Regions from separate parts of the Homo sapiens genome. Here all the other regions are linked to region 1. Evidence: promoter capture Hi-C in 16 types of primary human blood cells and fetal thymus (Javierre and others, 2016). All regions are on one chromosome and are shown on one strand. Each heading gives the region's core, a stretch centred on a gene start or on the middle of the fragment in contact. The rest is flanking DNA. Distances are from core to core; before and after follow the strand shown. Region 1 holds the start of RTTN (rotatin). Region 2 overlaps PIGN (phosphatidylinositol glycan anchor biosynthesis class N). Region 3 holds the start of ZCCHC2 (zinc finger CCHC-type containing 2). Region 4 overlaps VPS4B (vacuolar protein sorting 4 homolog B). Region 5 has its middle 6.9 kb from the start of VPS4B. Region 6 holds the start of SERPINB8 (serpin family B member 8).

Region 1 (3,882 bases), core at 1,037-3,536:
CACCATGTTGGTCAGGCTGGTCTTGAACTTCTGACCACCTGCCTCGGCTTCCCAAAGTGCCGGGATTACAGGCGTGAGCCACCATGCCCAGCCCGGTGTTCTTTCTTATTATCCCAGTTTTTGAATGAGAAAACTGAAGCCTGGAAGGGTTAATTACCTTAGCCAAGGTCACACAACTAGCAGCAGAACTGAGACTTAAATCCATGTCTCTTTGACTTGGATTTTAACAAGTATATCATGATGGACTGCAGCATATAAAAATACTTGCATTATGTCGTTTTGATTGGTCCCCACAACAAGATCATGAGCTAGGACAGATATCATTATACTCCAATATGACGAACAAGGTCAAAAATACAAATATAAAGCACTAAGAACAATGAGCACTCATGTGCTCAATAAAAATACATTGTTATTGCCAAAAAAATAATCTGTCAAACTGGCCTCATAAAAGCAAAGTCACTGGCATCGTTTAGGCCTGACCCAAAAAGCAATTAATGCAAATGTACCATCCTTTGACTAACAGTAGAGGAGGGGAAAAAGGTCAAAATCATGTAAGTTAACACAAGAAAAATAAGTTTGGGGGAGGTGGGAGAAATCCTTTTTAAAAAAATCTAATCTCCCTTTCCTTAAAATTTACCATTAGAATTAATATATTTGTATTTAACAGATTCCAAAGAGTTACCAGTTTGATTGGTTTGGTATGAGGCAGAAGATAGTGCAGGAACTTCCGAAGGAAGAAGAAAAAGTCCATCCAGAATGCCATCAATTTCAGCCTGCAGATTTGGCTCCACATTAGACCGAAGCTTAGATAAGAACTCTACTGCACCAACGTCAACCAAATGTTGGACTGCTGGGGGATACTAAAATAAGAAGAGGATGATCTTGAGAATAACTGTATCAAAATCTCTATAACTTACAGCAATCAAAACATAAAATTATTTTTGGTATATCAGATGTTCCTTTTCTGAAAAACAAATCCTTCATGGCTCTGCCCCGAAGTAAGGCACTTCCATGAGGAGCACATACACCTATAGAGACATACATCCAACACTTGATAACATTTATGAAAGATGAGCCAACACACTGAACGCTAGAAATGCACATTATCAATCCCTACTCTTATTTTTTTAATGGGTTACTTTTTTCCACTGACACTCACCTTATGGTCCCAGCCCCAACCGGTCAACAGGATGTCAAAGTAGTTTAAGATTCCTCTACCATTGTACAGTGATTTAGTTTTGAAAGGTTAAACTTACACTTTGATATCTGACCCCGATAACTAACTACTCTTGAGGTAGGCATAAGAATACCAATCTAAAAGCATATGGGCAAGCAACTTAACATTGGTATTTATGAATCACGGTTATGTAACATTATTTTTAAAGTGCTCCCTTTCATACTGACATATCTAGTTTTTAAGATGTAAATGTCAGAAAACAAAAACAGAATACAAATATTAACCTCCAAAGATAACTCAAAAACACAGAACATACCAAAACTCAAAAGAAGTTCTGTGTTACTTCTGAGCACAGCAGAGACCATGTGGGATTCAGTATCACAAATAAAAGATGAACCATATACCCAGATTAATTAAAATTAAACATCTCTGGTTGATTAAAAAAACTTTTAACCCCAATTATTTAACTTTCAATAAACGCTACAATTAAATGACTAAGAAACAAGTCACTCGTCTGATTATTTTCTTTATTTCAAAATGACCCTACCTTAACCAATCTGCTTAACAGGTTCAGAACCTCTTCCTTCATCGGAACGGACGGGAAATTGAACCATTCCAGCAAATGAAGAAAAAGTTGCCTCTCCTGAATGAGATCAGCGTAGCAGATTAAGTTGTGCTCAATCTTGCAGAGAATACTCTTGAGAGCGCGCTCCCTGATCTCGGCCAGCTGATGACCTGTCAACGAACGGCACAAAACTATTTTATTTCCCGACTGCAAAGAGACTACGTTATTTATGCTGTGGGCAGGAGCGGCGTGAAGACGGAATAAACCAGTTTTTTTCAGAAGCAGGCCACTGGTGCCTTCGGGACGCGAACCGCGAAGTTTACACAAAGTCCGAGATGGGTCCCCGGGGGCTATCCTGACAAAGCGGGGGTGAAAGAGGGAGCGGTCGCGGAGCGGCCGGCCGCGGAAACGTGACACGACCATTCTCAGCAAGTGGCCAGAGCGCGGGGGGTGCCTTGGGCGAGGGGCAAGCTGACAGTTACCGAGTTTCCTGATGAGCCCTGCCAGGACCATCTCGTCCCGTCAATCTGCAGCCGCCGGAGAATTAAACTGCCGCGCCACTGCGTCCAGCCACAATTAATGTACCCCCGGAAACACGTCCTGTGGGACGGTGAGTTCCGCAACGCCTGCGCTCACCAGGAGTAGGAGTCATTACGTGAGCCCTTCGCGGCCCCAGCGTCGCCAGGAGAGCTTCCAGCCTCTCTAGAATCACTACTGCGCACTTCCTGGACAGCAGTCTCCGTCGCAAGAAGCGGAGGGAAAAAAAAAAGCAACAAGCAGGGATAGAACCAGCGTTGGCCGCCGCGCACGTCGGGAGTTGTAGTTCTGGCTAGGCCGTGCGTCCTGCACCGATCTCCGGGCCCGCCGCGGCGCCCGCTGGCCTGGGGTTCCGGCTTACAGCGCGGGAATTCGGGAACCCAGCGCGGGCTGCAGAGGCCCCAGCAGGAGCCCCGCCTCCCGGCTCGTCGACGGATTCGTTCTTGGCCCTGCCAATCTGATTCTCAGCTCCCAGAACTTCACGATTTAGAATGTAGACTTTTGCTTTGTGACAGTTCTCCCCATCCCCGACTACTAAATGACGAACCCTCTTTAACTGTGAAATGTACCTGCAAAGTCAAGCAGTGTCTTTGGATACCCAAGTTCAGATATGAACAAGCAAGCTACAAAAGCGGGGTGGGCGGGTATGAGTGAGCAGAAGAGAGAAACCGGGCTGCAAAAAAGGAAAATAAAGGCGGGACGTGGGGGTATGATTTGCTGAATGGTACCAAAGTTGATTTTTTGCACCGTGCACAGTGATCGAGCTGAGCAAATTATTTTTTTTTTAATTATAAGCAGCGGTAAGAACAACAACAAAATTACATTTGGAAAATGATTTGCATTTTCTCGGTCTGATCATTTCACGTTCCCTGGGAAAGGGATGTCAAGGCAGGTAAAGTGGGCCCTCGGTATCCCTAGGTAATTGGTTCCAGGACCCCCGCAGATACCCAAATCCACCCATGCTTAAGTCTCTTTTATAAAATGGTGTAGTATTTGCATATAACCTACACACATCCTCCTATATGCTTTAAATCATCTCTAGATTGCTTACAATACCTAATACACTGTAAATGCTATGTAAATAGTTGTTACACTGTACTTTTATTCATATTATTTTTTAATTGTTGTATTGTTATTTTCAACTGTGGGGTTTTTTCCCGAATATTTTCCATCCCGTGTGTTGAATTCTCTGTGTGCAACCAGTGGACAGCAAAGGCCTACTGTATTCCCATTCCTATTTTGCCAAAGAGGAAACTTAGAATCACAAAAGTACCCCCACACAAAGTCACATTAACTAGTAAGTGACAGATTGAGGAGCTGACCTGATGTTTCTTTGTTCTATTTAGAGTGCCTTGCTGCCTCCTCATGTGTGTCAATAGGAGAGTGATGATATTTGAGTTGGATCTTAAAGAGTAAGTAGGAGTTTGCCACACAAAGAAGTTGGGTAAGGAAATTCCTGCAGGAGAAACCTGTATTTGCAAAGGCAAGAATCCAGACGGAGTGTGTCAAATTCGGGAAAAGAACAAAATTCAAGGTGGCCATATTATCTCTGGGAAGAAGAGAGGAAGGGCAAGATTGCTGCTAGCATGCTGGATATTCT
Region 2 (3,882 bases), core at 576-3,075, 8.0 Mb before region 1:
GAGGAACTAACCCTTATAATAAACCACCGTACTCTGCCATTTTCGGTAATGTCACCTAGAGATTGTGTTCTTAACCACTTCAACATTTACTAAAAATACACAAACCTACGATGTGAAGTAAAACCAGCCAAAACTGTAAGACAGAGCTGGTAGTCCCAGCTACTTAGGAGGGTGAGGCGAGAGGATTGCTTGAGCCTAGGAATTCAAGGCTAGCCTGGGAACATAGCAAGACCCACTTAAAAAAAAAAAAAGAAGAAGAGGAAAGAAAAACTGTAAGATAGTACTTGGAGCCTGCACACAAGATTATCAGATAAACTATTAAGCCATATAATTAGCACTAGTTCATTTGCTTATTATTCTGGGGTATATATTTTTTCATCAAGATTTATGTCATTTTTAATTGTAAACTCTATGTGACTTTACAAAATCCCATATGAGAACTAATTTTCAAATTTTCTCATGGCAAGTAGACTAGAGGTTATTAGTTCTTTAGATGATTCCTGCCCACTTGAGTTCAAAATCTTTTATCTGTATCTCACATCCTTTTTCTGTTCCAGAAACTCTACCAGGATACCACAGGGCAGCTAGTCACCATATCTCCTTAGGCTTCTCTTGGCTGTGATAATTTCTCAGACTTTGCTTGTTTTGATGACCTTGTGAGTTTTGAGGAGTACTGGTCAGAGATTTTGTATAATGTCTTGCTATTGGGATTTATCTGATGTTTTTCTCATGGTAAGTCTGGGGTTATGGGTTCAGGAGAGGAAACATACATACATAAAGTACCATTTTCTTCACATCACATTAAGGGTACTGTCAACATGACTTACTAAACTGTTAATATAAAACTTGACCACTTGGCTGAGGCGGTTTGTTCAGTTTGTCCTCTGTAAAGTTCACTGTAAAGTTTCTCCATGTAAATGTTCCCCCATTTCATACTATAGTTTTTGGTAGGAAGTCACTACGTGCAGCCAACACTTAAAGAGTGAGGAGTTACACTCCACCTCCTGAGATGACGAGGCACCTACATAAATTGATGTTCTTCTGTATGAAGAGTATATATGTTAAACCCAGTCAATTGTGTAATTAAAAGCCATCTGTCGGTCAGGCCTGATGGCTCACACCTGTAATCCTAGCACTTTATGAGGCCAAGGCAGGTGGATCACTTGAGCTCAGGAGTTTGAGACCAGCCTGGGCAATGTGGTGAAACCCCATCTCTACAAAAAATGCAAAAAAATTAGTCAGGCATGGTGGCACATGCCTGTAGTCCCAGCTACTTGTGGGGCTGAGGCAGGAGGATTGCTTGAACCCCGGAGATCGAGGCTGCCAGTGAGCTGAGATCACGCCACTGCACTCCAGCCTGGGTGACAAAGTGAGACCCTGTCTCAAAATAAATAAATACATACATAAATAAAAGCCATCTGTCATTCTACAAGATTACATTAATATTATAATCATCATCATTTCCACTCCTGCTTTCCCCACCTTACTTGAAATTAATTTTTACCAGTATAGATGCAAAGCCATTATTTCTTTTATAAGCTTATTCTAATCAGTACTACCAAAAAAGCCTTATAAATGATCTCAAACATTCAAGACCTATATTCTATTATATGACTCTATTACAATTTAATTGAACACTATCCTGCTGATCAACATCACTCGCAGTTGTCATGATTACAAATAATATGGCAATTAAGCTGCTCTCTTATGGTAAAGGTGGAGATTTTTAGAATTTTTACAAACTGTAGAGTAGTGACCCATAACAAAATAATTTCATGGACTGCAATTAGCCTTCTTTCCTTTTTTTAAAAAATGAAATAGAATACAGTACAATAGGATTGGATAAAATATAGAATATATCACATCACAAAGTACTTCAGAAGTAGTACATGATTATTTTGAAAAAGTGTGTTTTTTTCCTGTGTATCCACGCATCAATATTCTTGCATGTACATAACCTGTACTGAAAGTTTTATTTTAAATTATTCTATGGACCAATAAGATTGAAAGCCACCTCTATAAGTGGAATTGCTCTAATAAACAAAATTTTCAACTTTACAAGTGACTGGCAAAGTGTCCATACTAATTTACATACTCTCCAGCAATGTACGAAAGCTTCTATATCTCTAAATCCCCCTAATTGCTTGATACTGTCATATTTACCTTAAGACAATTTGAACAGGCCAAATTGGCATCCTGTTATTTGAATATGTATTTGCCTGATTACTAGTGAGTATGAAAATTTTTTCATGTTTTTATTGGCCAATTGGGTCTCTCTTCCTTTCAACTGCCTATTCATATCCTTTGATCAGATAGGATTAGGGTTATTGACCTTTTATTTGACTTGTACATTACAATTATATGTGTGTGTATGTTTATATAGTGTGTGTATGTTTATACATAGCTAGATATACACATTTATATATAAATGTTGTTCATAGGGCCTTTTGTTAAAATAAATTTTTCAACTTTAATACAGTAAAATTTGTCAAACATTTATCCTTTCTGGTGTGAGTTTTTTGTGTCTTGTACTATAGAAGAAAACTTTCCTGGTTCTTATGTCACATATATTCTTCTAATAGTTTTAGATTTTTGTTTTTTACCTTTCATTATTTAAAATTTATTTGTGTTGGTTTGTGTCCTCTGAAACAAAAATAATTATTTGTATATGGTGTGAGGTAGACATCAGCTTATGTTTTTAACCAGCTCACAAGTATTAGTACTGCTACTAGTGTAGAATTTACTATGATAAAATTACACATCAGAAAGAAAAAGGTTTTAAACCTTTACATTCAAATCTTGGCTTTTGCTATTTGTAATAATAAAAAATTGGAAACAATATCTAACCATAGGGAACAGATAAATTGTTTATTCATAATGAAATACCATATTTCTGAAAAGGATACATCTCATAAATATCAGTATTAATAAAAAAAATTTTAAACATCTATTGCCCTTTTCTCCCCAACACAGTCAAACTTCTTGAAAAGGCTGAATGTGACCTCTTTTTTTTCCTGACCACCTAAATCTCAAACAACTTAAACCTTATTGTCATTACTTCATAAGAAAGTAAAGACAGTTAACAGTGCAAAATCTAATAGCTATTTTTTAGTCTTCATTTTCTAAGCAACCTAAGCTTCCTGGGCTAAGTCATCCTCCCACCTCAGCTTCCCAAGTAGCGGGGACCACAGGTGCATGTTTACCACATTCAGCTAATTTTTGTATTTTTTGTAGAGCGGGGGTCTTGCCATGTTGCCCAGGCTGGTCTTGAACTCCTGGGCTCAAGTCATCTACTCACCTCGGCCTCCTAAAGTGCTGGGATTACAGGTGTGAGTTGCTGGGCCCAGTCGCCTTCTCCTTTTTATTTTTATTTCTTTTTAGACAGAGTCTCGCCCTATCTATCGCCCAGGCTGGAGTGCAGTGGCGCGATCTCGGCTCACTGCAACCTCCACCTCCCGGGTTCAAGCAATTCTCCTGCCTCAGCCTCCCAAGTAGCTGGGATTACAGGCACACAGCATCATGCCCAGGTAATTTTGTATTTTTAGTAGAGACAGGGTTTCACCATGTTGGCCAGGCTGGTCTCAAACTCCTGACCTCAGGTGATCCACCTACCTCATCCTCCCAAAGTGGTGGGATTACAGGCATGAGCCACCATGCCCGGCTGCCTTCTCCTTTTTAATAGGCTGTTATCACTTGGCTTCTATGAACATTACTGCTTTCATTTTTCACCTACACCTCTGACCAATGTTGAACAGTCTCTATCTGATCACTAAATTTTGGAGTTACTCAAAACTTGGTCCTCAGCTGTCTTTTCTTCTCACTCTATACTTTCTATCCTGGCAAGTTTCATCATATCTGTGGCTTCAGTTATTACCTAATATG
Region 3 (3,882 bases), core at 495-2,994, 7.7 Mb before region 1:
TTTAGATCAGCTTTGTAAGTGTAATCTTTAAAGACAGTTTAATATTTAACACCTGTTTTAAAATACATGCTGTATGTGAACTAACTAAACAAAAATTTATTTTTGAGGTACCTTATACCCACGGCAATTTAAATGATCAAACTACAGATTAAAGTACAATGATATCAGACATATGTTGGTGCCTCCCTGCATTCATATTTTTCTTTCCCCTCTCCAACAGCCCTGGGTCTCCTTGGAAGGGACCCATATGGTTCTGAAGTTGATTCACTGCCTTGGCCCCAGTGACTGATCAAGAATGGCCATAGAACCTCAGCCAATTCAACTGGAGTGAATCTCAGGGCTAGTCTGATAATGCTGAGACATGTTTTCTTTTCCCTGGTAGGTAGGAACAAGGTTCCAGGTGACCCAAGAGTTTCTGGCCTTTACTTTTTGTTACGGGAGCACTGTTCATTCATTCATTCATTCATTTATTCAACAAATATGGATGAACATCTACTGTGTGCCAGATGAGAAAACATAACATTGAATAAAACATGGTCAGTGACTTCAAGATATTTATATTCTAATGGAGGAAACAGGGAGGTGTAGTGGGAGAGGGGTCTCATAGGGAACAAATTCTTGATATGAATCAGACTGCCTGTTTCAGGATATCTGAAGTAGAAGTGGACGTATCTGGGCATCCTTTTTATAGTTGATATATTTTAGTGTATCAGGCTGCCCTGAACCACCCAGTTATCTGAGGTTTTGGTGAAATGTCTTGCAGCAACCCAGCTGCAAAAAGGAGGGTTGAAAAGCCTCCTCCGTCACTAGTGCCTTCATCCAAACCTTCACTTGGAATCAGTTTTCTGGTTACATATAAATACTTGGACAATAATACCAGCTATATTACGGTATGGCATGGTATATGAATAATGACACCTTTCACTATTAAAAAGGCAAATAAAACAATATACTGAATGTGCATTAAACATCATCTAGGTACATCAGTGTAGTATGGGAAGTTAAAAATATATATATCATCTGGGGACAAGAGACAATAATACTTTGTGTCCTGGTTTTTGTTACAAGATATATTTCTTTATAAAATATTTGGATACAAACCACACACTCACCACTATCACAATAATGTTATCTGGCCCACATGATTTGATTATGCAGGGAATACAAAAAAAAATCAGAAAATCTAGAGCAGGTGTTCTCAACAGGTAGGCTGGCTAAGAGGAATCCCTTTCTAGGGAGTCTTACTAGAATCATCAGGGTAGTTTTCCCAGCTTAAAAACTCACATGTCACAGTGGGACTTCCATCGGGGCCCCTCCCTCAAAAGCACTAGCGTTTTTTCACTCTTACTGAATGTGTTCTCTCACTTATGGTAACATGGAAAAAACATTGAGGCCTCCTTGTGAGCTGCAGTATGCAGAGACGGAGATAAACAACAAATTGTCCAGCTGATGGATAACCAAAATCATTAAATCATGGTATATGTCACTTATGTGTATAAGCTTTGATCACTATATTGTTTAATGTTGGCCAAAGCTATAAACACCCAAGTAATCATTATTGATTACAAATTTGAATTCTGGTATAAAATGTATGCATCAACTATTGTGGAGAGTTCATATCAAATGGCTTCTTATTGCCAAGGAAAATGCCCCTTTGACTGCGTCACATATAAAACTCAATTTGCCAGCCTGGGCAACATGGTGAGACTCTGTCTCTACAAAAAAATACAAACAATTAGCCAGGTGTGGTGTCACGTGCCTGTGGTCCCAGCTACTTGAGAGGCTGAGGCAGGAGGATCTGCTTGAGCCTGTGCTCCAGCCTGGGTGACAGAGCAAGACTGTGTCAATCGATCAATAAAACAAAAATCAACTCGGAGGTAAAGAATTTATTTGCTCACTAGATATCCAGATCTAGACAGCTGGCTCACTATGAACCTGTGAATATCTAGCAAGATTAATATTATTACTAGTTGCCTAAGTATTTCACCCTAAGCTTTAGAAAAGTGGGAACAGGAGATGAGATATGAGTAGAAGATCCCAGGGTAGTTGAGGGTGACAGCAAAAAAGGGCAATGACGTATAAGTCCTCATAATAAAGTTTTCTTGGCTGTAAATTACATCTAAAGACTGTAAAGAACTAGCAAATTACAAGAAAGAGTGACTTTTATATATTTTGCCAACCTCAAATGTGCTGAAAACAGTTCTCCCTCTCACCCTTTCATCCCCGAAACTGATTCAGGCTTCAGTTCACCCTTTTACTGAACTGTGAATGAGCCTCTTAGGACATAAACTTGTGAGGTGAACAGAGTTCAGCATATGCTCTCCCAACAGATGTTCCAGCACCACCGCAAAGAGTTACAATGTGATTCTTATCTTTCTGCATACTCCTACTACATAGCTGTAGTAGGACTTCTAAATTTAAAGTCTTAAGATTTTTTTTAACCCACCTTTTAATTAACCCTCAAAAGATCCAGCTGAGTTTTAAAAATTTGGACTATGTTGCTAAAAAAAAAAAAAAAAAAAAAAAAAAGTAACAGTGCGAGTGTAAACATCTTGGAAGCCTAAATCTGAAAAACGTAACAAAACTTTTTTTTTTTAAGTTTAAAGCCTGTCAAGTTGGTAGCTTATTAAATTCCTCCAGTCACATGAAATTCACAGCAGAACAAGGATTCAAAATGGGTTAGGCACCGAAATGTCATTTAGCAAATCAATGATTCCCAAAAGATAGAGGTTTAGGGGCGGGGAAGGGAGAGGCTTTTCCTAAACTATCCAGGAAATAATTTTCACAGAGCGTTACAGACTAGGAGCGTCCCCAGCAGCGCTCACCCTCGGCCGGCCGGGTCCCGCTGCGCACCTCCCGGCCGCGCGTCCCCACCTGCGCACGGTGCCTCCAGCCTGGGCGTGGGCGCGGCCCGGGATCGCGGCGCCGGGGCCGCAAACCGGGGCCGCAAACCAGCGCCGCCACCCGCGTCCGGACCCAGTCCCCTGTGAGCGACACCTGGCAAAGTTTCACAAGGTGGGAGACAGCCCACCGCCGGCTTTCAGGAAGTGCACTGGGCGGTGAGGACTCGAACGAGCTCGTCCCGGGGCTGGCGCACTCACTTCGGAGAAACCCCTGCTCCCGGGACGCGTTCACTCCGGCCGCGCAGGCAGCCCGGGCACCACTGGCGGAGGCGGGGCGGCAGCTGGCAAGCAGAGGAGAATCAGGAGTCCAAAGCCGGGCCAGGGCCCTCAGGAAAGGTGAGAGCGGCCGCGTCCCTCCGCTCACGTGGGCCTCGCACGCTCCTCACCGCTCCCGGGCTACCCTCACGCCGCCCCACGGCCCCAGCCCGCGTCCTCCTCCTGCCGAGCACCAGCCTTTAGGACCGCACGGAAGCCGCCGAGAGGGAGGCGGCCGGCCAGCAGTTGGGCGTGGCTTCCTGGAGAAAGGCGGCCCCCCAGGGGGCGGGGAGAGCGACGTCACCGTCGATTCGCGGTGCTGATTGGCGGAGGTGAGGTGCGCGGAGCCCGCAAGCTTCTCCGCCCGGCCCGGCTGCTCCACCTCCTCACCCAGCCGCTCCGTCCTCACCGGCTCGCGAGGGAACAGCTCAGGCACCGCCGCCCCGGCTCAGCGCGGACGGCGGAGAGAGGGAGGCGGAAGGAGGACACCCTCGCTCGCTTGCTCCCACCCGCACCCGGGCTCCCAGAACCGGCGAGGAGCCCAGGGGGAGGAGCCGTCGCGGGCACGCCCCGCCCCCAGCCCGGGAAGACGACGCCAGCGACCCCGCCGGCCGGCCACCGCCCCCCTCGCCGGCCGAGACCCGCCCCCGGCCCCGGCCCTCCCCCGGCGGCATGGAGGGGCCCCGCTCCTGACGGCCGCGCCGCCGCCTCGGCCCGTGCTCCA
Region 4 (3,882 bases), core at 859-3,358, 6.8 Mb before region 1:
GGAATTGCCTTGGTTATCATAGGACGGTGGGGCTGTGGGTGAGGTAGACACTGCAAAAGATTCACATGACACTCACTCCAACCTCTTTCTATCATGCTGTCCAGTACTATAAAGGCTGTCCTTATTAAAAACAAACAAACAAAAAAAACCCTGCCGTTTCTCATCTCCCTTGTAGCTAGGGTTCCACATGAGACCTAAATTCTTCCAAGAAGGTGGGGGCTGCTCACAAGGAGACAGAATCTTCAGGCGAAGGCACTGGTTTTGCTGAGGGAGCTGCGCAGAGGATTTACTACCTGCTCCCAAGCACCATCAGTGCTTAGCAGAGGAGTTGGCAACAGTGGGATCCCTACTTGAACAACCCTGGTACTGTTGGCCATTTCTCCTGATTCCCTGGCCCCACTATTCTGTAAGGTAATACCCTATAATATATCCCTTTTTGCTTAAATTAGCCAAAGTGGGTCCTACTGTAAACGAAGATTGCTGTTCAGTACAAAAGAAAAACTGGCATCGCCTTGTCAGGTAATCATCTCAGAAGAGATCCTTACAGGGTTTTCAAGCAAGAGAGAAGAGCTTCTATGGACAAGGGAAGAGAAGCTTCTGCTGTCAAGGGAGTCTCAGTGACAGCTGGAGGTCCTGGGCAGTCAAGGTCAACTAAATTCTTCCCAATATTTTCACTTCATGTTTGGAGTCCCTGTTTTATACCAAATGTCCTCACTTTCATATAAGAAACCCTAAGTTGGAATTCAGTAATTTGTAAGATCAGACTATCATCTGATTTTTGTTAAGTCAGTGCTATCGATGAAGAAGATAACATGTTCTTAGGGTGTCACAGAAACTCCCTGGTTCCCCGATCACATCTTGAACAGAGAATATAAAACCTTGAGCTTAAGCTTATCATTTCCTTCAAACTCTGCCACATAGTTTGAAGCAGCCAAGTCAACACTGGTTCTTATATTCCTCATGTACTTCCAAATGGTCTGTGGTAGCAGCCACGAAGCCCCAAAGCACTGCCTAAAAGGCACTTCATTCCTTGTGACCACAGGGTATTGTCTAAATAACCTGCGCCACTGCATACCATGAACAATGAGAACCACATCCTCTAAAGCTGAGCAGAATCTCGCTGTTTTCAAACCCAAGCAGGCCAGATAACTCCATCCCAGAGTCTCATTTTCTTAAGGGTGTGTTACCTGGAACTACTGGCATCAATTAATAGGACAGCCAGAGAGGATGTGGTTAGAATATGTTCCCAGTGCTGAGCACAAACTTGGCACGCATATGTCATGTACTGAATAAACAAATTCTGCATCTAGAAGTGATACATCCCCCATCTAGGAAGACATGCCAAAAATCAGTTTCAACGTTTATAAGTTATGCTGTGTTGTTTTCTTTACAATGACAACATAAAGCAAATCTAACACAAATTCACATCAAAAAATTTTGCATAAGATATCCAAAAAAAATTTACATTGTTGGAGTTACTTTTCATTTTTTCCATGTGGTCAAAGGTTTAACTCTCTGGTCACTCCTATAACCTTAAGCTTCCATATTAGCTAATGGCCAGAGAGTAACTGAGTACTATTCCTACAAGCATTCTCTCCTCCTACTAGCAGGCAGTCAGGAAGGGTTGTTTGAGGAATATTATCCATTCAACTTGGCAAACTAGGGGTCAGCAAACTTTTTTTTGTAAAGGACCAAACAAGTAAATATTTTAGGTTTCGTGGGCCATACGGTCTCCACACAACCACACAACTTTGTTGTTACGGCACGAAAGCAGCCCTAGACAACAATATGTAAAAGAATGGGCACGGCTGTGTTCTGATAAAGCTTATTCCAAAAACAGGCAGCTGGGCAGCTTTGGCCCATGAGCCATAGTTTGCTGACACCTGTTTTAATCAAAAGAAATTTCACAAATCGAAAGCAAAAAGCCACAATAAAATTGAACAATTTTAAACACGTACCCCTTCTCATCTGCTGGACTCGGCTGTCCTTCTTTCACTGGCTTCTGTGCTTTTTTCTCTTTATTTTTCAGGTACTCCTTTAGTTTTTCTGCTCTATCAAGATATTCTGTACACTTTGCCCTGATACTTTGCTTGGCTTTATCACCCTGTGCTTCATCTATTAAAGGGAAATGAGAGAGATTTTTTTCCATTAGTATTCTATGTAGAAAGGTTTGAACTCTTAAATATGTATTTTTTCAGACAAGGAAATTCTATGTTGGAAGAAGGAGGGAAGATCATCTCTAACTCATCATAGCCAATGATTATCACCTCTTTTCTACCCCTTCCTCCAGCAGGGTTGGAGACCAACAGTGGGTCTGAATCAGAAACAACCTAAGCAAGACAGCAGGGTATATTAAGTTAATGTTAACTAACAGGAAATTATTTAATATTCTGAAGCTTTCATATTTTTCCCTTACATTTTTGCAGATAGTTCAAAGTTGCTTGTCTTAGACAAACCCAATTATAAAAAAGACAAATAGAAGGAAAGCAGTATTAATCATTTCTATGAATGTCTACAAAAGCTTTATTTCAGAAGAGTAAAGTGATGGAAATCCCATATATTCTGTGTAATACCAACATCGTAAATTTTACTACACAAAGGCCTCTGTCAGAGCTGTTTTCAAAGTGAACTTTGGCAACACGTGCAATAGATGGGATGAGCCCCACATAGCTTACAGGTTATGACTCATTCTTAGTCTCACTTTAACATAAAACCTCAGAACTAAATGGGAGAAGCTCAAAAGAACATCTTCAATCATCTAACTGCATTCCATTTAAGAGCTATGAGGGCAGGGGTCTTAACCATTTCTTTCCATTGTATCCCCAGTGCCTGCCACGTGGTACACACGCAATACATATCTGTAAAGACACAAATAGAATGTCTCCTAACCTATTTTCCACTGACTAGACTACATTTTAAGATGTTTACATATACAAAGTAATAACTATGATGGCTGTCACATTTGCTAGCTACATCTCAATACTTAAAAATCACTAGAAAGAAAGTGGAGTATTTTTTTTTTTTAACAAATGGATCGTTTAGAATTGTCTGGCATTATATTTCAATTTTTTAGAAATGAAACAGAATAAATTTTCCTTTTCGTGTTTTTAAATAAAATATAACCTATGGCCTCACATTTAACGACATGAAGAAAATACTGCACAGCATGCTGATAGAGCTGAAGGGCTTCTTCGTAGTTCCCAGCCTTGTCTTCTTGCGCTGCTTTGCTAGCCAGATCTATCGCTTTCTGTTTGAGGGAGGCAAAATAACAACATTTAAATCAAAGCATAAACATAAATTTGAAGTAAATAATCATACTGAAAGTTTTTTTTTTTTTTAAAGCTTCTCAGCTTGCTGGGCTGTGAAAGAAAACAAAAATAAGTAAAAAATAAACAGTAACTAAAAAATCATTTTTTTCTAACTCACAACTGTATTTTATTATAAATTACAAGTTGAAAAGATGCAAATTACATGTTATAGGAATAAATGCTACTGAATGTTACTTTAGTACCAATCGCTAACATTTACATGTAATTTTCACTTAGCTAAAGTTAAATTTAGGGCTAATAAGAAATAATAGAATGTGAAAATTCAAACTAAACAAGCATTTAGAGAAATTCTCAAAAATTAAATGCTGCTTTAATCTAAAAGATATAACAATAGTGGAAATGTAAATGGGGTGAAACCTCTTCAGAAGCAATGGGGCAATGAAATATCAAGAATCTGAAAAATACTCATATATTTCAATCCAGTAATTAACTAAAAGGTTTACTGAGCACAGATATTATCAGAGAGGTCTTTTAAATAACAAAAACAAAACCTGGAAACTTAAATCATAAAGGATGCCACAAAACAGAACACCAAAGGATCACTAAAATAACA
Region 5 (3,882 bases), core at 575-3,074, 6.8 Mb before region 1:
TCACATGCAGACCACCCAGGACTGAATTCATTTCACTCAGACCATGTTAAAGGACATGCATAATATTAATATTAAGGTCGTCCCCTCATGTGCACCCAGAAGTCAAGTCTCTACTTGTTGAGTTTTCAGCTTCCTCCCTGACCCGAAACATATGAGTCCCATGAAAGTGACTCAGGCAGTTGTCAGGCAGGAAGCTGGTTGAGCCCATCAGGTTACATTCCTTTCTGAATGTGCTCAGCTACCTTGAAGGCCCAGCCCTTTCTCACTTATTGCTATTCATTTTATTCATATGAAGCCACAGCCAGCTTGTGGACTGATAAGGAGGTGTGGGAATCAACCCATCAATGTCATTCATTCAGCCATGTGATGGAGGGCGTGGGGATGAAGCAGCAATTCCTCATTGCTAGTCATATAAGGGTGAACATGACATAAGGCATTAGCACAGAAGAAAAGACGACGGGTCTGCCCTCAAGAAGTTTGCAGGCTAGAATAAAAAAACAGAAGAAAGAAGTTTTTTTAGCTGCACCCTGGTAATTTTGTGTTTTTAGTAGAGATGGGGTTTCACCATATTGGCCAGGCTGGTCTCGAACTTCTTACCTCAGGTGATCCGCCCACCTCGGCCTCCCAAAGTGCTGGGGATTACAGGCGTGAGCCACTGTGCCTGGCCCATCTTGTTTTTATTTTATTTTATTTTATTTTTTATTTTTTGAGACAGAGTCTTGCTCTGTCGCTCAGGCTGCAGTGCAGTGGCGAGATCTTGGCTCACTGCAACCTCTGCTTCCCGGGTTCAAGCGATTCTCCTGCCTCAGACTCCCGAGTAGCTGGGACTACAGGTGCAAACCACCACACCCAGCTAATTTTTGTATTTTTTAGTAGAGACGGGGTTTCACCATATTGGCCAGGCTGGTCTCGAACTCCTGACCTTGTGATCAGCCCGCCTCAGCTTCCCAGAGTGCTGGGATTACAGGCATGAGCCATCGTGCCTGGCCTTCTTTTTACTCATATTTTCACCTGCAGTTGGTTGAGTCTGTGGATGTGGATTTATGGATTTATATGCTTTATAAAAGCATATAAAACAAGGTATTCTTCTGTTGTATGTGTTGCACATATTTTACCTGTTAGTATTTGGGTCATTACTTTTTTGGCATGAAAATTTATTATTCTTTTTCTTTTTTGCTGTGTTGAGAAAGAGCTTACCCACTAGTAGATTATTTAAAACAACAACATCATACCTTTATCTTCTTCCAGTGTGTTCAGGGTTTCACTATTGCATCTAAATCTTTGACTTGTCTGGAATTTATTTTGGTGTTTTATTTATTCCAAATGAGTAGCCAATTGTTCCAATATTATTTAGTTAACATTCATCTTTTCTTCACTCATTTGAAAGGGCAGCCCTTATTGTGTACCATTTTCTCACAAGGATTTGTCTGAATTCTTGATGATGTTTTAACTATTCCTTTTAACCACCTATTCTTACTCCAACAAAACTTATTACAATGGCTTTATAATACATTTCAGTATCTTGTGAGACTGCCCAATTTCTTCTAAGCAGAATGCAACACTAGTTAAGGGCTCAGTTTCTGATATCAGAATGCTTGCTTCAATTTTTATTTTTTATTTTTTGAGATGGAGTTTTGCTCTTGTTGCCCAGGCTGGAGTGTAATGATGCGATCTCAGCTCACTGCAACCTCTGCCTCCTGGGTTCAAGCGATTCTCCTGCCTCAGCCTCCCAAGTAGCTGAGACTACAGGTGCCCGCCACCACGCCCAGCTAATATATTGTATTTTTAGTAGAGACGGGGCTTCACCATGTTGACCAGGCTGTTCTCGAAATCCTGACCTCAGGTGATCTGTCTGCTTCAGCCTCCCAGAGTACTGGGATTACAGGCATGAGCCACCACGCCACCTTCAGAATCTTGACTCTAGCACATAGTAGGCAATTACTCAATCTCTCTAAACTGCTGTTTCTGCATCTGTAAAATGGGGGTGGTATTACTCTCTGTCTACTGGGGCTACATGAGAATTAAATGAGATTAGAACATCACAGAATTGGGCTCAAAACATAGTTAACACTCATTAAATGTTTGCTATCAAAAATTTTCAGAATAGTTCAGATTTTTCTTACATTACTTTTCCACATGAATTTTAGTATTATTTGTCAAATTCCACCTAAAACATTTATTTATTTTGTAATTGAATTGATATATTAATTCAGAGTAGATGGACACATCGTTATAGAAATGAGTTTCCCTCAGGTTTAAAAATCATGATACGTCTTTCTTCAAGTCTTCTTGTATGCTTTTTTTTTTGACAGGTCTCGCTCTGTCACCCAGGCTGGAGTGCAGTGGGGTGATCTTGGCTCACTGCAACCTCCACCTCCCTGGTTCAAGCTATTCTCCTACCTCAGCCTCCTGAATAGCTGGGACTACAGGCATGCACCACCATTCCTGGCTAATTTTTGTATTTTTAATAGAGACGGGGTTTCACCATGTTGGTGAGGCTGGTCTTGAACTCCTGACCTCCTGATCTGCCCACCTCAGCCTCCCAAAGTGCTGGGATTATAGGCATGAGTCATGGCACCCGGTTTCTTGTATGCTTCTTAGCAGTGTTTTATATTTTTCTTCACATGGTTTCTGAACATTTGATTTGGATTTATCTCTAGGAATTTCACTGTGCTATTGTTGCTATCACAAGTAATATATTTTCTTCCCATATTTTCTAGCAGATTATGGTTTATATACAGGAGACCATGAATATATGCAGGTTGATTTTGGCAGACACTTTGTTTCTAATAGATCATCTACCTGTTCTCTGAGGGTTTCTAGGCAAATGATGAAAACTTCTGCAAACAATGATACCTTTGCCTCTTTCCCATACAAAGTTAAAAGTGTCAAGAATAGACATCCTTATATTCTCCCAAAGTTTAAAGAAAATCCTTCTAGTGTCTTATGAAGAATCATTTAACACATGAAATATGATTATATTAGTTTTCTATTACTGCATAACAAATTAGCACAAACTCAGTGGCTTAAAACGACATACTTTTATTGTCTCACAGTTTCTGTGGATCGAGAAGCCAGGCCCAGCTTAGCTATGTTGTGTGCTCAAGGTCTCACAAGGCTGAGATCAAGGTGTAGGCTGGGATGCATTTTCATCAGTAGGCTCAACTAGGGATGGATATGCTTCCAACTGCCTATGATTGTTGTCAGAATTCATTTCCCTGGAGCTGTAGAATTCATGACAGCTGATAACCTGCTTCTTGAAAGCCACACACACACACACACACACACACACACACACGCACACACATGCACACACACGCAGAGTTTCTGCTGCTTCAAGTCTCTTACTTTAGGGAAAGCTCATACCCTCTTTAAAGGGCTCACCTGACTAGGTAGGACTCACTGAGGATAATCATCCTTTTGATGAATTCAAAATCAACTACTTAGGTGCCTTAATTACATCTACAAAATCCTTTCACCTTTGCCATATTCTATTGGTTTGAAGCAAGTCACGGGTTCTGCCTGCACTCAAGGAGAAGGAAATTACACAGAGGTATGACTTACTGGGGTGTATCTGCTACAGTAATATTTCAGAACACATCTCTATAAAGGAGATAGGAAAAATTAATATTCTGCTCTTAACATAAGAGAAATGTGTAAGATTTCATATTCTAAATGCTATGCTCACAAGCAACTATAAAATTTTTGTTGGTGCTATATAGATGTGAATATGTAATTTACATTTTATAAGACTAAGACAACTGTTGCATTTATTTAGATATCAACAATAGATAATAAAAAAGAGGAGTGACCAAAGGCAGATGCTTATAAAGAAAGGTAAAGCACTGCCTTGGGACATTGTATGGAGGGGAAGCATTTGGT
Region 6 (3,882 bases), core at 728-3,227, 6.2 Mb before region 1:
ATGCCAAATTTATGTCCTGGAAATTCCTCAAGGCCATGTCCTCCTCTCCATTTCTCCTGCCTCTGTTTCATTTCAGCTTTCCTCATCTCTCATCCATGCTGCGTCCTTAACGCCTCACTGCAGGCAATGGTACCCTCCTACAATATACTCCATGTTGCAGCCAGAGGGACCTTCGTAAATACAAATATGATTATGTTTCTCCCCAGCTTAAAATCCTTTTGTGTTTCCCCATAGTCCACAAGGGAACGAAGAAACACCACCAACAGCGTCCACATGGCCTTCACGACATGGCCCTGTGGACACATCAGACGTTGTCTTGCAGTGCCTCATCCACACTATCTGTACCACTGCAGGCCTGGATACGTCATGGTTTTCATGGTGCTATCTTGTGCCTCTTTGCACCTGCACGCACTGTGTTTCCTACATGGGATATCTGTGTTTACAACCAAACTCCCAGGGGCCAAATTATATCCTTTGTAAAGGACTTCAAACCACCAGGCATTTGCTGGAAGTTTCACGGAGGAAAACAAGCATTTTTCATCTTTTAATCTGTTTTGCTGGTCAAAGAGGAAAAGGAGTGGATGGACAAAGTGGGGCCCAAAGTCTGGATCTAGTTCTGACCAACAAGGAGAAATTGATGCACAATGGGGAAGTGACCTTGGCATTTTCAACTGGCAGAGCCGGTAAGTTTGGGCACAGTTCAAATGTGAGTCTGTAGCCACTAGAGAGAGGGGTTTCAAAGTCATGGAGAAAAGATGGGGGTGAATCCTGCACCAAGACTTATTGAGGAGAGTTCTTGGGAACAGTTACTTTTAGGATTCCACAGGGAAATCACTGAGCGAGTTTTACAAAATACTGCTGCTGGGTTCCCTCCTCCAAGAGATCTTTACTTAATTGGTTTGGGGTGCAGAGTGGGAATGTGCATCTTTAAAAGCAGAATTCCCAAACTGGAGAGCTCTGTGAGAGCTTCCTGCAGGAGACATTATTTGAACTGAATTTTGAAAGACAAGCTTGCATGCCAGGAACCCCATGTATATGAACAGAGGATATGAAGGAATGTAAATAATTTGCTATGGCTCTAAAGAAAAGAAGGGAGAAATCAAGACGTGAAGAGGCTTACACTCCTTGCTCAATAGTTTCTAATTTATCTTTTTGGATAAGAGGATGTTATAAAGGATTTTAAACTGAGGTATAAAATAATTAGAATTGGAATGTTTACCTGAACTTCAGAGTAGGCAATAGGTTGGCATGGATCAGAACTGTAGGTAGGAAAATTAATTGTTTAGGAGAGACATGAGACATGATAGAGGTGACAGAGTATGGACAGGAGGAACACAAAAGTGATAGAAGTAACAGGACTGTTGATCATTTAGTTAAAAGAACTGCGGAGGGACACACCCAGGTTTCTGAGAGATGTCCAGTAGTACACAGGTAACATCTACGGCTCGAGACAGGTTAGAGATTTTGAAGAAATAAGTTAAAAGTTGAAACATGAACCTATGGATATAGTGGAGGTCATACAAGAAGATCATATTATAATGAAAAGAAGAGGGCTTAGAATGGTAGGAAAGGAATCAGGATACCAAGCAAAGGAGTCAGGAAAGAAGGGAAGGGTGCTCTGGAAATCCTGGGAAGGTCAAAGAAGAAAGGGCTAAATGTCGCCAACAAACAAAATGAAATAAGACCTGGGATGTATTTTTTGGCCAAGGCAATTAGAAAATGATTAGTATCCTTATCAGGAGCAATTTCAGAGAATGTTTGGGTGGACGTCTAACTACAGTGGAGTCAAACGTGAATCAACGGTGAAAAAAGGACAATAGCCAATGTGTACACTTTTTATAAAAACCACCCTCCAAGGACCAGGCACTGGCCCTCTCTCCGGTGCCCACAGACATCCACACAGGCCCAAAGAATCAGGGATTGCACAAGCCAGAGCAATCGAACGGTTCTGAGTCATCTGCCGGAAGCCTTGCCCTCAATCAAGGCGGACGTGAAGCATCTACAAAGGAGGAATAGTCAAAGCAGCAGCGGCGGCGGCGGCGGCGGCAGCAGCAGCAGCAGCAGGAGGTGGGGGCCTCTGCCAGGTACCGGGCGGGGCAGGCACGGAGGTGCCCAGGTTCCCGCGGAGGCCACCTCTTCCCTGGAGTGCGTGAGAGAGGGGAAGGGAGGAAGGCCAGAGCAGGAATCAGAGCGAGGCAAAGGCGGGCAGGAACTAGGAGAATGACGGCGGGAGGCGGCCGGGAAAGAGAGTCGCGGGGCTGTGGGGGTCGCCCTGGCACCAGCCGGGGTCCCAAGCCCCACCGCGAGACCCGGCGAAGGCCGAGGGCCGGGTCCCGAGAACAGGTGCGCCCAGACCCGCCCTGAATAGGAAGCTGCCCCTGGAGAGGGAGCGTCTGTTTCTAGGCTTGCGATTTGCTGCGCTGTGATTTGCTGCCGGATGGGAGCGGGGGGTGACGCGAGCAGTGAGTTTGGAAGCGCCGGAAGCTTGGGCGGGAGCCCCGGGAGGGCGAGTGGGAGGAGCCGCCGCTGCGGAGGAGGCTCCGGGAGTGCGGGTGGCGGGGCCTGGAATTTCCGTGGCGCCTGGGGCAGATCGGGGAGGCGCCGAGTCCCTGCTCCCCTGGCGCCCAAGCTTGCCCCTGTGCTTACAGCCTATTGGTTGCACCTTCTCCTTCCCTTCCTGTCCCCCCCCTCCGTTCTTTCCACCCCTGCCTTCATCTTTCTGTATCTTTCATATTCTCTTCTTCATTGTCTGCTTCCTCTCAAATGGGATGGGGTTGGGGGTGCTTCTTCACCTACGCCCCTCTCTGTTGCAGCCACCGGCGTTACTTTAACCAATTCCTCACTTTCCAGACACTCTCAGTCCTCTGGCTGCTGCTTCACTCCTGAGACCTCTCCATTCCAAAGGGCCTCACCCAGGGCTGCTCTCCGGGCCCCTCCCGCTTCCCTGCCTCGGGCTCTGCGTAGACCGCGCCCTCTTCCCTGGGTCCACTCGCAGGGGCAGACTCGTCTCCCCAGTTCTCCCAGCACACCCTGATGGCTGGGTCTCAGTCTCCGTTTCGCGCGCGCGCTCTCCCCTCGCCCTCCTCTGTCTCTTCCTTTTACTACCTCCAGATATTGGAAATTCCACAGAAATAGGTGGATTTCTTCCCTTGTGCCTCCACTAGATGTTCTGTGTAGTTTCATCCATTCTCATGGAACCTCTCGGAATCGGGATGCTGATGGCTCCAGGTCTCTGGCTCTAGACAGTCTACTCATCCCCGTCCCTAACTGTTTACAAACATCCTTGGCTGTCTTTGTTACAGGTTCACCTGGTATGGTGTGTTCCACGCATCTCAAATGGAACAAGTCATATTCCCCATTCCAGCCTGACTCCTCATTTAAAATTCCAGTGGTTCACGACCCACCCTGAGTATGAATTTATAACAGCTAGGCGCCTCGGGACTGGGCCCTCCTGTGCTCTGTCCCTATGTGAGCAGTCACTGCCTGGCAATTCCAGCCCCCACTTCTCTATTGCAGACAATCCCTCTGCTTTCAGCAGTCCCTGGCCCATGGTGGTGGCCTACGCGCCAGCTCCCCAGCCTCTTTTCATACCAAATACTGAGCCGGGTTATCTTTCTAAAGCCCCAATGCACTCATATGAGACGTTTGTTTAAAAACCATGCATGGCTTTCCAGACCATAATCTCAAGTTCAAACTCCTAAATGTGGCATAAGGGTCCGTCCTATCTCACTACCACGTGGCTCACAGGAAACCATAGAAACCCACCCCAGGGGCACCACACAAACCATGCCCTTTGTCTTCCTGCCACATTCTTGGCACCTGCTAATTCCTCAGCCTATTATTTGCATCCCCCATTTCACCACCTACGGAATGCCTGCCCGG

The links. The method cuts DNA at HindIII sites, captures the fragments that hold promoters and counts their contacts. A CHiCAGO score of 5 or more calls a contact.
Region 2: a fragment that was not itself captured here is called in contact with the fragment with the promoter of RTTN in region 1 in 1 of 17 cell types (total B cells); the score reaches 5.7 in total B cells.
Region 3: a contact is called between a fragment that was not itself captured here and the fragment with the promoter of RTTN in region 1, in 1 of 17 cell types (total B cells). The highest score is 7.4, in total B cells.
Region 4: a contact is called between a fragment that was not itself captured here and the fragment with the promoter of RTTN in region 1, in 1 of 17 cell types (total B cells). The highest score is 8.0, in total B cells.
Region 5: a fragment that was not itself captured here is called in contact with the fragment with the promoter of RTTN in region 1 in 1 of 17 cell types (total B cells); the score reaches 5.5 in total B cells.
Region 6: the fragment with the promoter of SERPINB8 here is called in contact with the fragment with the promoter of RTTN in region 1 in 1 of 17 cell types (total B cells); the score reaches 25.1 in total B cells.

The regions. Positions count from the first base shown.
Region 1 is chr18:70,203,401-70,207,282 of GRCh38, forward strand. RTTN (rotatin) reads right to left here and starts at 2,287. Exons shown (of 49, transcript NM_173630.4): 1 at 2,228-2,287; 2 at 1,728-1,915; 3 at 686-863. The coding sequence starts at 2,258. LOC105372180 (a long non-coding RNA gene) reads left to right here and starts at 2,389. Exons shown (of 3, transcript XR_935599.3): 1 at 2,389-3,174; 2 at 3,629-3,694. RefSeq lists enhancers at 1,987-2,116, 2,327-2,436, 2,355-2,984, 2,447-2,686. The HindIII fragment of the contact is 5,232 bases long and covers 805-3,882 here.
Region 2 is chr18:62,178,363-62,182,244 of GRCh38, forward strand. The region is part of intron 1 of PIGN (phosphatidylinositol glycan anchor biosynthesis class N); the gene reads right to left. Among named protein-coding and RNA genes, the nearest start is that of PIGN, 6.8 kb to the right of the region's middle. The HindIII fragment of the contact is 576 bases long and covers 1,538-2,113 here.
Region 3 is chr18:62,519,487-62,523,368 of GRCh38, forward strand. It overlaps ZCCHC2 (zinc finger CCHC-type containing 2), which reads left to right and starts at 3,539. Exons shown (of 14, transcript NM_017742.6): 1 at 3,539-3,882. RefSeq lists silencers at 2,793-2,902, 3,133-3,402, 3,433-3,882. The HindIII fragment of the contact is 493 bases long and covers 1,499-1,991 here.
Region 4 is chr18:63,408,332-63,412,213 of GRCh38, forward strand. It overlaps VPS4B (vacuolar protein sorting 4 homolog B), which reads right to left. Exons shown (of 11, transcript NM_004869.4): 2 at 3,136-3,247; 3 at 1,959-2,115. Among named protein-coding and RNA genes, the nearest start is that of VPS4B, 12 kb to the right of the region's middle. The HindIII fragment of the contact is 572 bases long and covers 1,823-2,394 here.
Region 5 is chr18:63,427,453-63,431,334 of GRCh38, forward strand. No RefSeq gene overlaps it. Among named protein-coding and RNA genes, the nearest start is that of VPS4B, 6.9 kb to the left of the region's middle. RefSeq lists an enhancer at 1-864. The HindIII fragment of the contact is 5,711 bases long and covers 1-3,882 here.
Region 6 is chr18:63,968,104-63,971,985 of GRCh38, forward strand. SERPINB8 (serpin family B member 8) reads left to right here and starts at 1,978. Exons shown (of 7, transcript NM_002640.4): 1 at 1,978-2,067. LOC105372165 (a long non-coding RNA gene) reads right to left here and starts at 2,401. Exons shown (of 3, transcript XR_935576.3): 1 at 1,220-2,401; 2 at 1-170. It also overlaps a transcript of HMSD not described here. RefSeq lists enhancers at 1,810-1,859, 1,890-2,059, 2,352-2,646 and silencers at 2,120-2,319, 2,330-2,389, 2,460-2,679. The HindIII fragment of the contact is 1,474 bases long and covers 1,009-2,482 here.